Regions from separate parts of the Homo sapiens genome. Here all the other regions are linked to region 5. The links are contacts of gene promoters, found by promoter capture Hi-C in human tissues and cell types (Jung and others, 2019). All regions are on one chromosome and are shown on one strand. The core of a region is centred on a gene start or on the middle of the fragment in contact, and the rest is flanking DNA. Distances in the headings are between cores, read along the strand shown.

Region 1 (2,700 bases), core at 200-2,699, 280 kb after region 5:
CAGGCAATTTCTTTCATCTTTTATATATTTTCCATTCAATAAGAAAAAGTGGTTAAACTATAAAGAATACTAGAGAGAGAATATATTTGGAAATGAAAGAAAATATAAATTGTTTTTATATACTAAGGGGAAAAAAGCAGTGTCACCAAATGACACATAGATATACTTGGCAAAATGATTTATTCTATCATGATAGAAAATCCAGCAAATGAATTTTATTAAGCAATCAATATTAAGCGATTATTAAGGATCTACTACTATATATCTGGCATCAGATTTTCTGGAACCAGGTGGGACCTTACTCTCGAGTTGTGGCAATGGTGACCTAGAGCACCAAAGTAACTTGTTTAAGGACACAGCTATTAAGCAGGAGAACTAGAACAGATCAGGTCGTTAGACTCCAAGTTCAGTTTTGAAAAGTTCAAGTCAACAAACATCTGTTATATGCCAACCATGTAGCAAGCATGTGCTAGACACTGGAAATACAAAAATAAATAATATAGAATATTTCATCTCAGAGAAATTCATAACTTTATTTTTAATAAGCCTGCAGAGAAGGCAATGGAAATCAGTCATCAAACTTATTTAGGGCCAACCATTTAGAAGAAGGCACATATGAATTTAAAGCAACTACATATTATGCTTGTATCCATTTTCATTTTCCATGAACTTTTGGTAAATGGTTTTCTTAATTGGTATGTTGATAACTTCTTTTTAAACATACCTTTAAAAGTAAAGGGGAAGAGAAAAAGGAATAGAAGAGGCACTGACTCAACTGCAACAGAAGGCATACAGTATGAGAAATAACATTACTTAAGCAATAGGTGTGAATAACTTTTGTGAACAACTTTTAAAAATTTATTGTTTTAGAATATTCAGGTTTAGTCTAGTTGTTTCCCCCAAGGAGCTAAACACAGTAACAGATGGTGAATCCCATCTATAATAATCCTTGAGGAGATCAGCCTTAAAACATTAAAGACATTCCCTTAGACAGTCCAACAGTCTCTTAATAAGTCACCTAGAAAAAACATCTACAGATTTATCCAAATCTTTGTTCAAATTTTTATGTGTGTATTCCATGTGTGTTGCCTTCCAAAGTCTGCTACTCCCTGCCACCACCTTTTTAAAAAATAACCTAGTACTTCCTTTTTTCCTCCTAAAATTCGCTTTCACATGAGGCCCTTAGTTTGAGGACTCTAGAATTAGTAAAGAAGTTACATGATCACAAATAATATCATATTAGAATTAAAAGGAAATTTAGAGATCACTCATTTTAACACCATTCAAGAACAATATGTAGATAAACATTTTAATAAAATGTTAGAAATAAACATATATTTTAAAATTAACTAAATTATAAGACATCATCACTGATATAAGGAAATAAAATTATAGTGCATTTTTATCTCTTTTTTTCATTAGGATCAATTGTGGTTTTTATTGATTTGCTTATACTGAAATTTGGAATGGTTGTCTTTTTAGGTAGAATTTTAATAAAATCTTTACACTCAACAGCAGCAAGCATTTCACCAAAGCAAATGGATATGTCACACTAACTTTCTCCAATAGCAATTTAAAAATAATGCAAGAATTTCAGCTGTAGGAGCAATAACTAGGTCATAAAACTATGGTAGAGAATAAAGGTACTTGCTAAATCACACGGTGATACACAATTTAGAACAAGGCCAATTTCTATAATAATTTAAAGAGTCATAAAAATGTAAAAGAAACCTTTAGAAACTCTAGTTTTTGCCTTTTAAAATTGTGTTTAGCTCAGGAGTTTGTGTCCATATTTTTCTGATTAACTATTGTAATAGAGAAGCATAAACCAGATTTTAGCTTGGATCTATCTAGCCATAATGAAAGGAAATGTAGAAAACGACAAGCTTAGCAAATTCCTGACTGAGCTAAGACTTAGAGCTACATCCAAACCCAAAAAGTAAGCATTTGGAAACAATTAGAGGTTCACTTCTGGTTGACTAACCCAATTCTAGCATTCACAATGAAGCACCATTTCCCTATCATAAATAAAAAGAGATGAGTCATTAGGTATGAGTTTACCAGTAAAACAGGGCAATGATTTTATTCTTCAAAAGCTGAAGGTAAATCACAGTTATAATCTTACAATCATAAACATAATATTAATTTGAAAGCTTTACCCTTAAATGCTAACAGATTAAATAAGCAGTAGTTACTTATTACTCTTTACTGCCAGTAATTTTTTACAAGTAAAAATATATTCAAATCTTACTTCAGAAGCAGCTTTTAGTGAAAGAGCCTCACTACTTCAACAGTAAATAAAATTATCTACCAGTAATTATAAACAAACCAAACAAAAAAGGGTATGCATTACGAAAACTTCTGAAGAACAGTCTACTGACAATCACAATGTTTAACAATAAAAAATTTCAGTTAAAATTATTACTTAGATCTGAGAATAAATGTCAAGTAATATTAATTAAAACAAGATTACAGATTCATCTTGATGAATCAGCTTATGAGCTAAGTTTTCCTATATATTGTAGGGGTTCTTACAATCTACAAACACAAAGAAAGAAAATTATAGTTTTAAAAATAAATTTTAAAAATAAATTTGGCTTATGTTGTATATCATATTTTCAGGGGACAAAAAAGCCAAAGAAAACTGGCCCATAATGGTAACGCAATTCACATTTAAATTAAATATTCAGTCACATTTGC
Region 2 (2,798 bases), core at 237-2,736, 330 kb after region 5:
TCCAATTGGCTTATCACAGACTGGACACAGCTGAGGAAAGAAATCCGTGAACTTGAAGAGAAGTCAATAAAAATGTTCTGAAAGCAATCATCAGTTCAGTCTTTAAAAACAAGCTTCTGAAGTCAGAGTACCTGGGTTCAAATCCCAGCTCCAAATTTACTAGTTCCGTGACCAGTAAGTTACTTAACTTCTTTGTGCCTCAATTTAGCCATCACTTCAATAGAGTATAGTATAAAAGTGTCATAATTGTTATAATAATTGAGTTAATATATATGAAACATTTACCACAATGCTTGTCACATTAAAACCACATTAATATTCCTATTGCTAATTATTAATAAATCACATTATTAATTATTAACTATTATTAATGCTTATAATACCTGGTGTTCCCAAGCACAACCCATACCTCTTAATATTTGGCTAGATGCTAGAGTTTTCATCAGTTGGAAGTGCTACAAACTAAAAGTCAAAAACATTCTTCACACATACAGAAAAAGCATGGTTTTAAATTTTTCTCATAATTTGGAATAATTATATAATTAGAAACTAAGTCAAAGCACATCATTTACCAACAAGAAAAAGCACAATAATTTATAAACCTCTGCCAAATCATTACAAAAGATTTTAGAAAATGTCTTAAACTTTTATCATGAACCTTATTTATTCCACTGAAATATAGATATATTAGAAAGTTTAAGTGCAGATAGTACTTTAACCATCTCATCTGACATCTAACTCAAAGCAGAATGAGAATTGGTGAATAAATGATAAAGCAGAATAATAAAACTGATACATGAGGACAAGGTAAGGGGCATATTATTCATGCAATTCTCTTAGATTTAATATTTTAAGATTTGTCCTTGTATAGTTAGATTACCGAAAATTACACACTTGAACCATAACATCTATGTAACATGGAAAATAATGATTTAACTTTATTTTGAAGTATGAAAGACTCATGTGAAGAATTTCTCTATACTGTGATAAAACCATTAATAAAGACATTGTCTATGATTTTGTTTTCGATCCCCCAAGAAAAGATTAATATGGCAAAATACTGTTAAAATTTGATTTCAGAAAACTGTCTTTCTACTCTGATAAAATGATAGAGTTGTGTTCACTTTATGGAATTTTATAACTAAATTTAAAAGTCAATTTTGGGAGCTAAATTAGACTATATATTTAATAGATTAATTTTTTCCTCCCTAGGTATGGTTTCTAAATGTTTTTATTTCTTAATGTGTTTTATTAGTATATATAGCTTTTATTTTAAATTACTGTAATCAGTTTTAGAAGGCAGGGCATTCATTGTAAATAAATATAAACAAACATTTACTGATTTATTGATCTATATTTTACTATCTATTTCACTATTATTTAGTAAAACACTGTCATGGGTTGAATTGTGTTCCTGCGCCCAAATTCATATGTTGAAGTCCTAACCTCTAGTACCTGAGAACGTGACTTTATTAGAAATGGACTCATTGCAGATATAATTAGTTAATATTAGGTCATTAAGGTGAGCCCTCATCCAGTGTCCTTATAAAAAAGAGAAATTTGGAAGAAGATACATAGATCACAATGCGAAGATAAGGCAGAGATCAGGTGATGCTCCTACAAGCCAAAGACTGTCCAAGATTACTAGAAAACCAACTGAAGCTACAGAAAGATCATGGAACAGATTCTTCCTCAGAGCTCTCAGAAGAAATCAACCCTGATGACACTTTGATCTCTGACTTCTAATCTCCAGAACTGTGAGACAATAAATTTCTGTGGTTTAAGCCACCTAGTTTGTGGTGTTTTATTACACCAGACTAGCAAACTAACACACACTCCTTTTTTTCAACAAATTTACTTTATATGCACCCAACATAAACCAAATATTGCCATAATGCAAAAAATAAAAATAAAAATAAAAATTCCTTTTGCACAGAATAGCAGTCAGGTTCCTTTTAAAGAGGTGTGGATATAGCACGGCAATTTTAATACTCATCAAAATGAAATTTTATTTAAATTTTAAGTAAATTTAATTAGCATTAAAATGTTATTTTTAGTACTTAATAAAATGTGACTACCTGAAAAACTACTCCCTCTTCTGAGATGGAAGAACATTATGTTCTCTTAAAACACTGCAATATGAGATCTTTTCCCTTAAACTTGATATCATGATTTAAAAATTACCTAGCTGCAAATACACAAACTCATGGGAAAAACAGTCTACTTTTAGCTCTCTGCTGACCTATCACATGTAAAAATATTGCTTATGAGGAAGGTCAATTTTACTGCTCATATTCAATCTTAGCAAATGTTTCTGATTATGAATTATATTTAAACTATAAATTTAAACTATAAATTTCCTTAAAAAATAAAGGTAGCATAGAGAATACCTAAGGTTACATGACTGAAACACCAAAGGTAACTTCAGTAAACCATGATAAAGTAAAGCTGGTTGTGAAAATCCACTTACTTGTCGTAGACTCCTCTTTAAGCACTGCTAGTTTCTCTAAAATGTATTTGTAAACTCTTTTAAATGACTACCTTCTAAAGACATTTTAACATGGAAAACCAGCCGGGTGCAGTGGCTCGTGCCTATAATCCCAGCACTTCCGGAGGCTGAGGTGGGTGGATCACCTGAGGTCAGAAGTTCAAGACCAGCCTGGTCAACATAGAGAAACTCCCATCTACTAAAAATACAAAAATTAGCCAGGCGTGGCTGTACTCCCAGCTACTTGGGAGGCTGAGGCAGGAGGATTGCTTGAACTCAGGGGGCAGAGGTTGCAGTAAGCCAAGATCGC
Region 3 (2,700 bases), core at 193-2,692, 260 kb after region 5:
AACATGGTGAAACCCCATCTCTACTAAAAATGCAAAAATTAGCTGGGCATGGTGGCACACGCCCATAGTCGCAGCTACTCAGAAGGCTGAGGCAGGAGAATAGCTTGAACCCGGGAAGCAGAGGTTGCAGTGAGCTGAGATTATGCCACTGCACTCCAGCCTGGCTACAGAGCGAGACTCCATCTCAAAAAATAAAAAATAAAAACAAAAATAAAACATACATGACTCTTGATGGTACATTTCTATGCTGGCAAATACATTTTTGGATACAAAGGCACTTTGAAAACCCAATATGGTTTGGTTCATAAGTTTGCAAGGTACAAACAATTTAACAAACATGATTATACTGAAGAACGTCAACAATTATGACATTACGTATAGCACAGATTTCCAATTTCTTTCTTTTTTTAAAAAAAAGTAATACTGGTTTTGTGGGAATGAAAGCAGTGATTTCCAGCAGCTGCAGTGAAGACATTCCAGAAGACTGGAGGCCCACAACTGAAATTCTTACTGGCTGGGATGAGAGGATGGTGGTGTGGGCATTCAACATGAAAACAAACAAACAGAAAACAAAAACAAAAAAAGAAAGACAAAAGGACAAATTAACATCCTAAGCTAAAAACCTCAGAAGTCAAAAAGATTTGGAGGAAAGAGCACAAAAGAAAAGACCAAAAGTCCAGGAGATATCCTCTTAAATCTGATCCCTTAGCTGTGAACTCCCCACAAAGCATGAACGGCTGACTCTACCCCGTCTACTTAGTGCTCGGGAGTTGTAGTGATAATTTCTCTCTTTTAAAAAGCTGGGTACAATGTTTTGGATCGTACAGTACCAGAAAAATTTGGTCCATAAAAGGTGCATAATTTCTTTCCATTCACTACATGGCTGCAAAGTCAATCTGTACGTAGAGCTGTCTCACTCCAGCCTGAAAAGTAAGAAAAAAAAAAGTTAGAAAATCTAACAAGCTAATAACACCCTACACATTTCAGGAAAGTATTTTTTTTCTTTTACAAATCTCACTTTTTTAAAAAAAGAAAAGAATCATTTCAGAAACAAATATATTCATAAGCTACAAAAAATAATCTCCATTTACCACTACAAAAAAACAAACAAAAAAAAAAGAGCCATGTTAACAGTCACACACCCTATCCAGATATCCAGGTGATACTTAGAAAAATGCAGTTCACCTTCTACAGTTACTCTGTTAGAGGACACCATGATGCTTGACTGGTTGGCTCCTAGTTGAAATTGATACATCAACCCTGTCTAAATCCTCCTGTGATAAATGATTAGTAAACAATTTAGCAAGTATAACCATCTATTGGAATTATTTTGCACTCCAAGTTCTCTCTTCTGTTTTGGATATGAACTTGCTACTCAAGGATACTGCTCTCTAAATTCTCCCCAATATCTTCTGTATTATCAATTTACTTCCTCTCAACTAGATCACTTCTATTAGCATACAAACACACTGTAGCTGTTTCTATCTTTGAAAAAACCTCATGAGAAATTATCTTTTGGGTACAATGTACACTATTCAGGTGATAGTTGCACTAAAAGCCCAAACTTCACTACTACGCAATATATCCTAGTAACAAAACTGCACTTGTACCCCCTAAAGCTATTTAAAACAACAACAAAAAGCAACAAAAATCTTTACTTAACCCTACATCCCCTTCTGGGCTCCCCATCTCCGCTCTTCTTTACAGCAAAAAGCCTCAAAAGAGTTATCCATATTTGCTGTCTAAAATCCTTTTTCTCACTTCTCTCTTGAACTCATTTCAACCAATCTTTTGCTTCCCAACACTTCCCCCAAACTGTGTCCAGGTCACTTCCACATTGCTTACATTAATATCCAATTCTCAGGCCTCTTCTTCCTACTTCACCTATCAGCAATAATACAGATGGTCACTCCTGCCTATAGATATATATATTTTCCCTTTTGGCTTCCAGAGAATATTCACTGGCTGCCCTTTTACCTCACTTATCAGTCTTTCTCAGTCTTCTCTGCTAGTTCTTCCTCCTCTCTGAAAACTGAAATCGCCAAAGGCTAAAGAAAAAAATAAAGCTTGGTACAAGAGCTGGTAAATACCTCAGCACTCCCAGTAAACTTATCACCTTGCGATGTATTATACAACTTATTCACGGTGTTTATTGTTTATTATTGACCTCTCACTATAATATAATGTCTCCGAGATAAAGGATTTGGTCTTCTTCTTTACATTGCTGACTCCTAGAACCTCAAGTGAGAGCCAGCACACAGTAAGTGATCAATAAGTATTTGTTGAATTAACTAAAATTCTACTAATTTCCTTCTTTCAACCCAAAATGATCTATTTTTAATTAAAGGAACCCATTAGTCACAATAAGCCCTTTCTTCTCAGTACCACAGAATAAAAGGTAAATTGGAATATTTAATAGGAAAAAAATCAGAGTGAGGAAAAAATCTATTAGCACTACCTTCTTACAGTAATTTCTGGACTCCTCAAAGCACTGTTTCCTAGCTTGGCTTTTTTTCTAGAATTCAGGTAGGAGGGCTCTGTACAATACTGAGTGCTTGAAAGGATTCAGGAACTACTCGAATGGATAAAAGGCTTGCAGGCTCTAGAAGCTTGTCAGCAAAAGAAATATATTTTAATTTTGCTGGTGCTTCTCCTTTTTTTTCTTTTTTTTTTTCCTGTGGAAAGTTAAAGCCTCTGTTA
Region 4 (2,700 bases), core at 86-2,585, 360 kb after region 5:
TTTTTAAATGCTTAATTTTTCCAATTTTGTGTGTATAACATCTTTTGTCTGCAACTGCGTAACAAGCAGGGCAAGAAGGAAGGGAATATTAAACTGGTTTTTTAAAATCTCTTAGGCCAAATTACCTTATTGAGGAGGAAGGGAGAACTGAATTTGAATCAACTAAAATAAGATTGATATCTTTCCTCATTGGAAAAAAACATGAAAACACAGGGACTCGTAAGAATGCTAACATTTGTATGTTGTTTCCATTTCTACTCCAGGTGTTGCCACATCTGCAAACTTCCTGGGAGAGTAATGGGGATTCGAGTGCTTCGATTATCTTTGGTGGTCATCCTCGTATTATTACTGGTAGCTGGTGCTTTGACTGCCTTACTTCCCAGTGTTAAAGAAGACAAGATGCTCATGTTGCGTAGGGAAATAAAATCCCAGGGCAAGTCCACCATGGACTCCTTTACTCTCATAATGCAGACGTACAACAGAACAGATCTCTTATTGAAACTTTTAAATCATTATCAGGCTGTACCAAATCTGCACAAAGTGATTGTGGTATGGAACAATATTGGAGAGAAGGCACCAGATGAATTATGGAATTCTCTAGGGCCCCACCCTATCCCTGTGATCTTCAAACAACAGACAGCAAACAGGATGAGAAATCGACTCCAGGTCTTTCCTGAACTGGAAACCAATGGTGAGTTGCAGTGTAGTTCTCAGCCTGGAAAGGCTGCCGCTGTCCAGAGCTGGGACAGACATGTGAATTTCTGGCCTTCTGCTTAACCGTCTGGAGAAAAATGAAGGAAGTTAGTCCTAAGAAAGCACTTTGGAAAGCTTGAGGGACAATTTCCAAGATGTCAAGAAGTGGTTTCCTGGCGAAGAGGTTAATATTGTAATAAAGGATATGCTATAATTACATATGATTGCATTACAGTTGATAGTAAGATGCCATTTAGCTTATGCTTAATATATTTTTTTGCCACTCCTCTTTTCCTCCCATTCCTGACAGTTTCATGAGGTTGCAATTTGCTTAAAAGAATCTTGGCTTTATTCATTTATAGGCCCAATAGTTTCTAGGATGATGGATAATAACTGCTTGATTATTTTCCCTTCAGGCAGTTATACAATCAGTTATGATACCAAAAAAATTATTTTCTACTGGACAAATCTCCCCAAGAATACATTGCTTATTTATTGTTGGGTCAGAAAATACTTCATTTGAATGATCTATATAGACACTATTGTATTTTACTACTTTTGTTTTCATTTCCGAACTATTCAACTTAAATTTTTGTCCTTTCATTTTAGCAGTGTTGATGGTAGATGATGACACACTCATCAGCACCCCAGACCTTGTTTTTGCTTTCTCAGTTTGGCAGGTAATGTTGCTGTCTCTTTTATGAAACCGTCTTTATAAGATCTTGACTAGTACTTAACCACGGCAACATGGTTAATATAGAAGTTACCTAAAATATTTTAGATAATATTTATCTAAAAGATGGATGAATTTGTTATAGGCTAATCAAGATTTTCTGAGCTTAGTTCAGCCATCCTGAAAGTTATAGTATCTTTTATCTAGATTTAATTTATATTTTGGTGTATTGGGGAAAAGAGCTAGAACTGCCTTCCAGAGAACAATGGGGAAATGATGTGGTCCAGCAAAAACTAGAATGAGGAGATGTTTTGCCTAGACCACAGACATGTGTCTCAAATGATAAGCCTATTTCTATGTTAATAATGTGTATAACTTTTTGTAAAAGGAAGTATTTATTACCTCCACAAAATTTAATCCTGGTTCTGAGAGCATTGTTTAGAAATTTTGCAGTAATAATTTTACATGTACCATTGTGGTAGGAGGGTTTTGTTTTATTTTGTTTTGTTTTTTCCTAAATCATAGCTTGAATAAGCAGGCATAAATTGGTCAGTATCCTATAAAAGCCGCTCTCTCCTATTGAATATGTGTTAGTAATAGCTAACTTTTACAAGTTGCACTGCCATTACCTGAAACCGGAACTGCATGGAAGTACTTCGAAGCCGTGTCAAATAATTAAACACTGTGCTACCCAGTAAATGATCGAATTTATGCCATGGTAACTTTTAAAATTAGCTTCTTGGGATATAACAGCATTCGATATTAATGGTAAGTGATCACAATACTCAGCAGATATCAGCATTTTTAAAACTTCAGTTTTTAATTTCATGCCTAGTGTGCTGACCAACGAAATTTTTCCATATCAACAATTTTTTTTTCCAGTCCTTGGAATGAAATGAAATACATGAAAGCTTCTTGGACAAAAAGTTCTAATGTGATAATTCAACTGTGAGATTTCTATTGATGCTTAAAAATCCATTTGCCCAAAATGTAAAAATGGAGGCAGAATATGGGGACTGTGGTTAATTGGAACCATCTGAGTAAACTATAAATTAAAGATATATAAATATGATTTCAGGTTTTATTTTTAAAAATATCAAAAACAATTTCAGTCCATTGACCAACTTAAATTCAGTCCAACCCAAACCCTGCATAGCATAATGATCTGAGGTTTGTGTATAAGCAAGCAAGATTCGAGTAGACATTCATCTGTGTCTTTGTATTTGCCCATTACCTCCACTTTTAGTGTTTTCCCTTTTCCCTCTCTAGCCAATTGTGAAATTTCTTTCATTCTCCTAGATTGTATAAATAGCGCATCTTCTCTGAAACCTCCC
Region 5 (2,843 bases), core at 344-2,843:
AGAGAGGGAGAAACTCTATGGCCACATTCACTCAAAGGGAAATGGGAATTACGATGTTGGCTGTGGGTTGACAAAAAAAAAAAGATGATGAAAAGGAAAACAAGGAGTGGGAGGAATGGGAAACCTAGAGAACTACACCCCATTTTAACTCCACTCCTGCCCTCTCACCACCCCACACCCCCTCACCCCCGGATTTCCAGCCATGAGATTCTCTGAAGCAGTCACCAGCTTAGCTGCACGCTCAATACCAGCCCACGTCTCTCCTCGGAAAAGACTCAACTGCCAGTCTGAGGGCGAAGACACACACCTCTGTCCCCCATGCCCACCCCCAGCCCCCCAGTTCAAAGATACTAGCACCACCTCCTAATTGCCATGTGCCATGCAAGAAATCAGATTTGCAGGAAAATCATTTGAAAGCGTAAGCCATTTGGGGGCTCTATTAATAACTCTCTAGGAGCAGGTGTGCTTAGGGTCCGAGGGCGCAGTGAGGTGTGGGCAGCCAGGCCCGCCCCGCCTTGCTGTAAACAGGAAAGCTTAGCGCCTCCGTGAAGCGACTGCCTTTTCTTTCTTCTTCTTATTCTCCCCGCCTCCCCCCGCGCCCCCCCACCCCACCCCCCACCCCAAGCCAGGGCAAGTAAATTTAAAGGTATTCAGTTAAAACCATTCATAACAGATTGCAGCAAATCCCAGAAGTTTCGTACATTAGTTGATTGCATAAATATTTTTTGCTTTGTTTAGTTTAGCCAAAACATACACAAAAGAGAGAAATCAAACTACTCATGACAGCCATAATACATGCTACCACATTTCTAATTTCGATTGCAAAACTACTCTTCAGAAACTCACATTAAACTGCTCCCTGGTGCATTGCTAAATTTGCGTGGGCAGTTTTATTTACTGCAGTCCCCCAACACGTTGACTCCTCTCCTAGGACTAGAAAGTTACAAAGAAACTTTCTAAGACGGCACTGGTCAGCAGAAGTCTACTTCTAAGTTGCTTAAATATTTCAAGGTAATGCAGCAATGCAATAAAATGAGGTAATAGAGATGAGAACAATCCCAGCAACTCCGCGAACAGCAGAGGCTGCTCAAGCCAAGAAGCTCCGCATTTTCCCCCAACTAATTTTATACCCTGCTCCTGGGCAGTACTAATTTAAGCCATTACCCACGCTCCACACCACCCACCATATTCTTTGTCTATAGGATTTCCAAAATTTAACGCCTTCCCTCCTATTCCTCCGACCAACTGCAATTTTCACTGCCCCTACACCCGTAGGTTCCACAGTTGGGAATTAACCTTTTTTCTGAACTCCATAAATCACAAGTGCCCAAGAACAATCTGATCGAGATGGGCTCCTTAGTAGCCCAGAGATGCAAATTTTCAGCGCCCGGAGATGCATGTTTTCTAAGTTTTTGTTTGCCTCGTTCGACTTAAAAATTCGTTTCTGACACCTAAGCCCTACCACAACCGGGCTCCCCGCGCCCGCGACCCCCGCCATTCGCCGCCCCCTACCTCGCTCAAGCAGGGCGAAGTTGCGTTCGGAGAGCCCGGGATCTGTACGGCTCGCTTCGCATCTTGCTGCTGCCCCCGACTGACTGCGTAGTGCTCTCGCAAACTTACTCGAGTCGGGGTCCCCTCCCTCCGCAGCGGAGCACTCCAATGGCCAGTCCCGCTCGCCGCGGCCAGTTCCCTGCCTGCTACGCGAAGTCACCCAGCGCCGCGCCAAGGCTGGGTGGTTTCTTCAGGAAGAGGCTGGGAGGGGTTAATGCCTTAACCCCCCACGCCCTCTGTCAGCTGGGGGCCCCCGGATCTGAACTGCTGAGACGCACTGTCCAGGAAAGATCTGGGGCAGAAGCAAAAAAAAAAAAAAAAAAAAAAAAAAGAACCCCTCCTCCCCAAACAACAAATGAAAGAAAAAAAGAGAGAGAGAGAAGGGGCGGAGCCCGGTAACCCCTGGATTCTACTGTATAAATCACTGCCCTCGCCCAGATAGACGCTGATCCCTGGCTGTGGAGAGGATTCTCCCGAGCCCCTGAAAAAAAAAAAAGGTGGAGAGACTTTGAAAACTTTTCTCTCGAAAAGTCTGAGGAGGCAGAGGACGGCCCGGAGTCTCGTAGCGCACCGCCCTGGTCCCACACCCCCCGCAGCCCTAGGAGGATCGGTGTGCTGAGCTTGTGGCCAGGAGCTCCCCGAGCCACTTTCGCGCGAGCAGCAGAAAACCTGAGCCGCGGCCCGGCGAGTGTCGGCGGCGCTCTGGGGAGGAGAGGCTGGGAAGGGGCTGCGAGAGGTACGGAGGAGACAAGCAGCCCGGGAGGGAGAATGAACCGGGAGGTTCCTGTACTCCCCCCGCCACCCCAGATCCTCGTGCTACTCGCAACTGCGGTCTGAGGGGCAGTGGCTTTCCCAGAGTGCACAGAGAAATGAACCAGCGCCGGTTTTGGTGTTGGGCGAGGGGTTTCCCTCAGCTGAGCACAAAGTCAGGCTGTGTGTCCCAGATTCTGGCCAATGGAGAGGTCGTTGAGGGGGTGGGCTGCTGCTGAGTCCTGAGAGATTCAAAACGCCTGGGCAGCTCAGGAATTTCCAAAGGGGGAGATTCTCGGCCAGGAGCTGCGGAGCAACTGCAGCTGCCCAGCAGGAGCCGGCACCCTTCTCTCACATTCTGCTTGGGAGTCGACTCAGAGGCCTCAAATCTCATTACTAGCACTTTGCCCACCCTTTTCTTTTGCTTAGATGCTACTTAAGAACGTGAGGCTGAGAGGCGGACTTGGTCAGATCTGCCTGCGTGACAAGCTCAGGACAGGACGCTTCTGCCCTTGCATTACTGTTGTAAAAGTTTCCACCCA

Evidence for each region. Contacts are between HindIII fragments. The study calls those that stand out against the background at their distance.
Region 1: a fragment that was not itself captured here is called in contact with the fragment with the promoter of S1PR1 in region 5 in 1 of the 25 tissues and cell types used here (thymus).
Region 2: a fragment that was not itself captured here is called in contact with the fragment with the promoter of S1PR1 in region 5 in 1 of the 25 tissues and cell types used here (lymphoblastoid cells).
Region 3: a fragment that was not itself captured here is called in contact with the fragment with the promoter of S1PR1 in region 5 in 2 of the 25 tissues and cell types used here (lymphoblastoid cells and spleen).
Region 4: a fragment that was not itself captured here is called in contact with the fragment with the promoter of S1PR1 in region 5 in 1 of the 25 tissues and cell types used here (small bowel).

What each region holds. Positions count from the first base shown.
Region 1 is chr1:100,954,812-100,957,511 of GRCh38, reverse strand. All of the region lies in intron 8 of SLC30A7 (solute carrier family 30 member 7), which reads right to left. Among named protein-coding and RNA genes, the nearest start is that of SLC30A7, 60 kb to the right of the region's middle. The HindIII fragment of the contact is 6,198 bases long and covers 1-2,700 here.
Region 2 is chr1:100,901,516-100,904,313 of GRCh38, reverse strand. The region is part of intron 2 of SLC30A7 (solute carrier family 30 member 7); the gene reads right to left. Among named protein-coding and RNA genes, the nearest start is that of SLC30A7, 6.8 kb to the right of the region's middle. The HindIII fragment of the contact is 3,955 bases long and covers 1-2,798 here.
Region 3 is chr1:100,973,033-100,975,732 of GRCh38, reverse strand. SLC30A7 (solute carrier family 30 member 7) reads right to left here. Exons shown (of 11, transcript NM_133496.5): 11 at 1-923. The coding sequence ends at 876. Among named protein-coding and RNA genes, the nearest start is that of DPH5, 51 kb to the left of the region's middle. The HindIII fragment of the contact is 4,137 bases long and covers 1-2,700 here.
Region 4 is chr1:100,875,467-100,878,166 of GRCh38, reverse strand. EXTL2 (exostosin like glycosyltransferase 2) reads left to right here. Exons shown (of 5, transcript NM_001033025.3): 3 at 264-691; 4 at 1,303-1,373. Among named protein-coding and RNA genes, the nearest start is that of EXTL2, 18 kb to the left of the region's middle. The HindIII fragment of the contact is 3,736 bases long and covers 1-2,700 here.
Region 5 is chr1:101,235,769-101,238,611 of GRCh38, reverse strand. It overlaps S1PR1 (sphingosine-1-phosphate receptor 1), which reads right to left and starts at 1,593. Exons shown (of 2, transcript NM_001400.5): 1 at 1,513-1,593. It overlaps S1PR1-DT (S1PR1 divergent transcript), which reads left to right and starts at 2,084. Exons shown (of 2, transcript NR_104626.1): 1 at 2,084-2,287; 2 at 2,731-2,843. RefSeq lists an enhancer at 2,414-2,503. The HindIII fragment of the contact is 36,645 bases long and covers 1-2,843 here.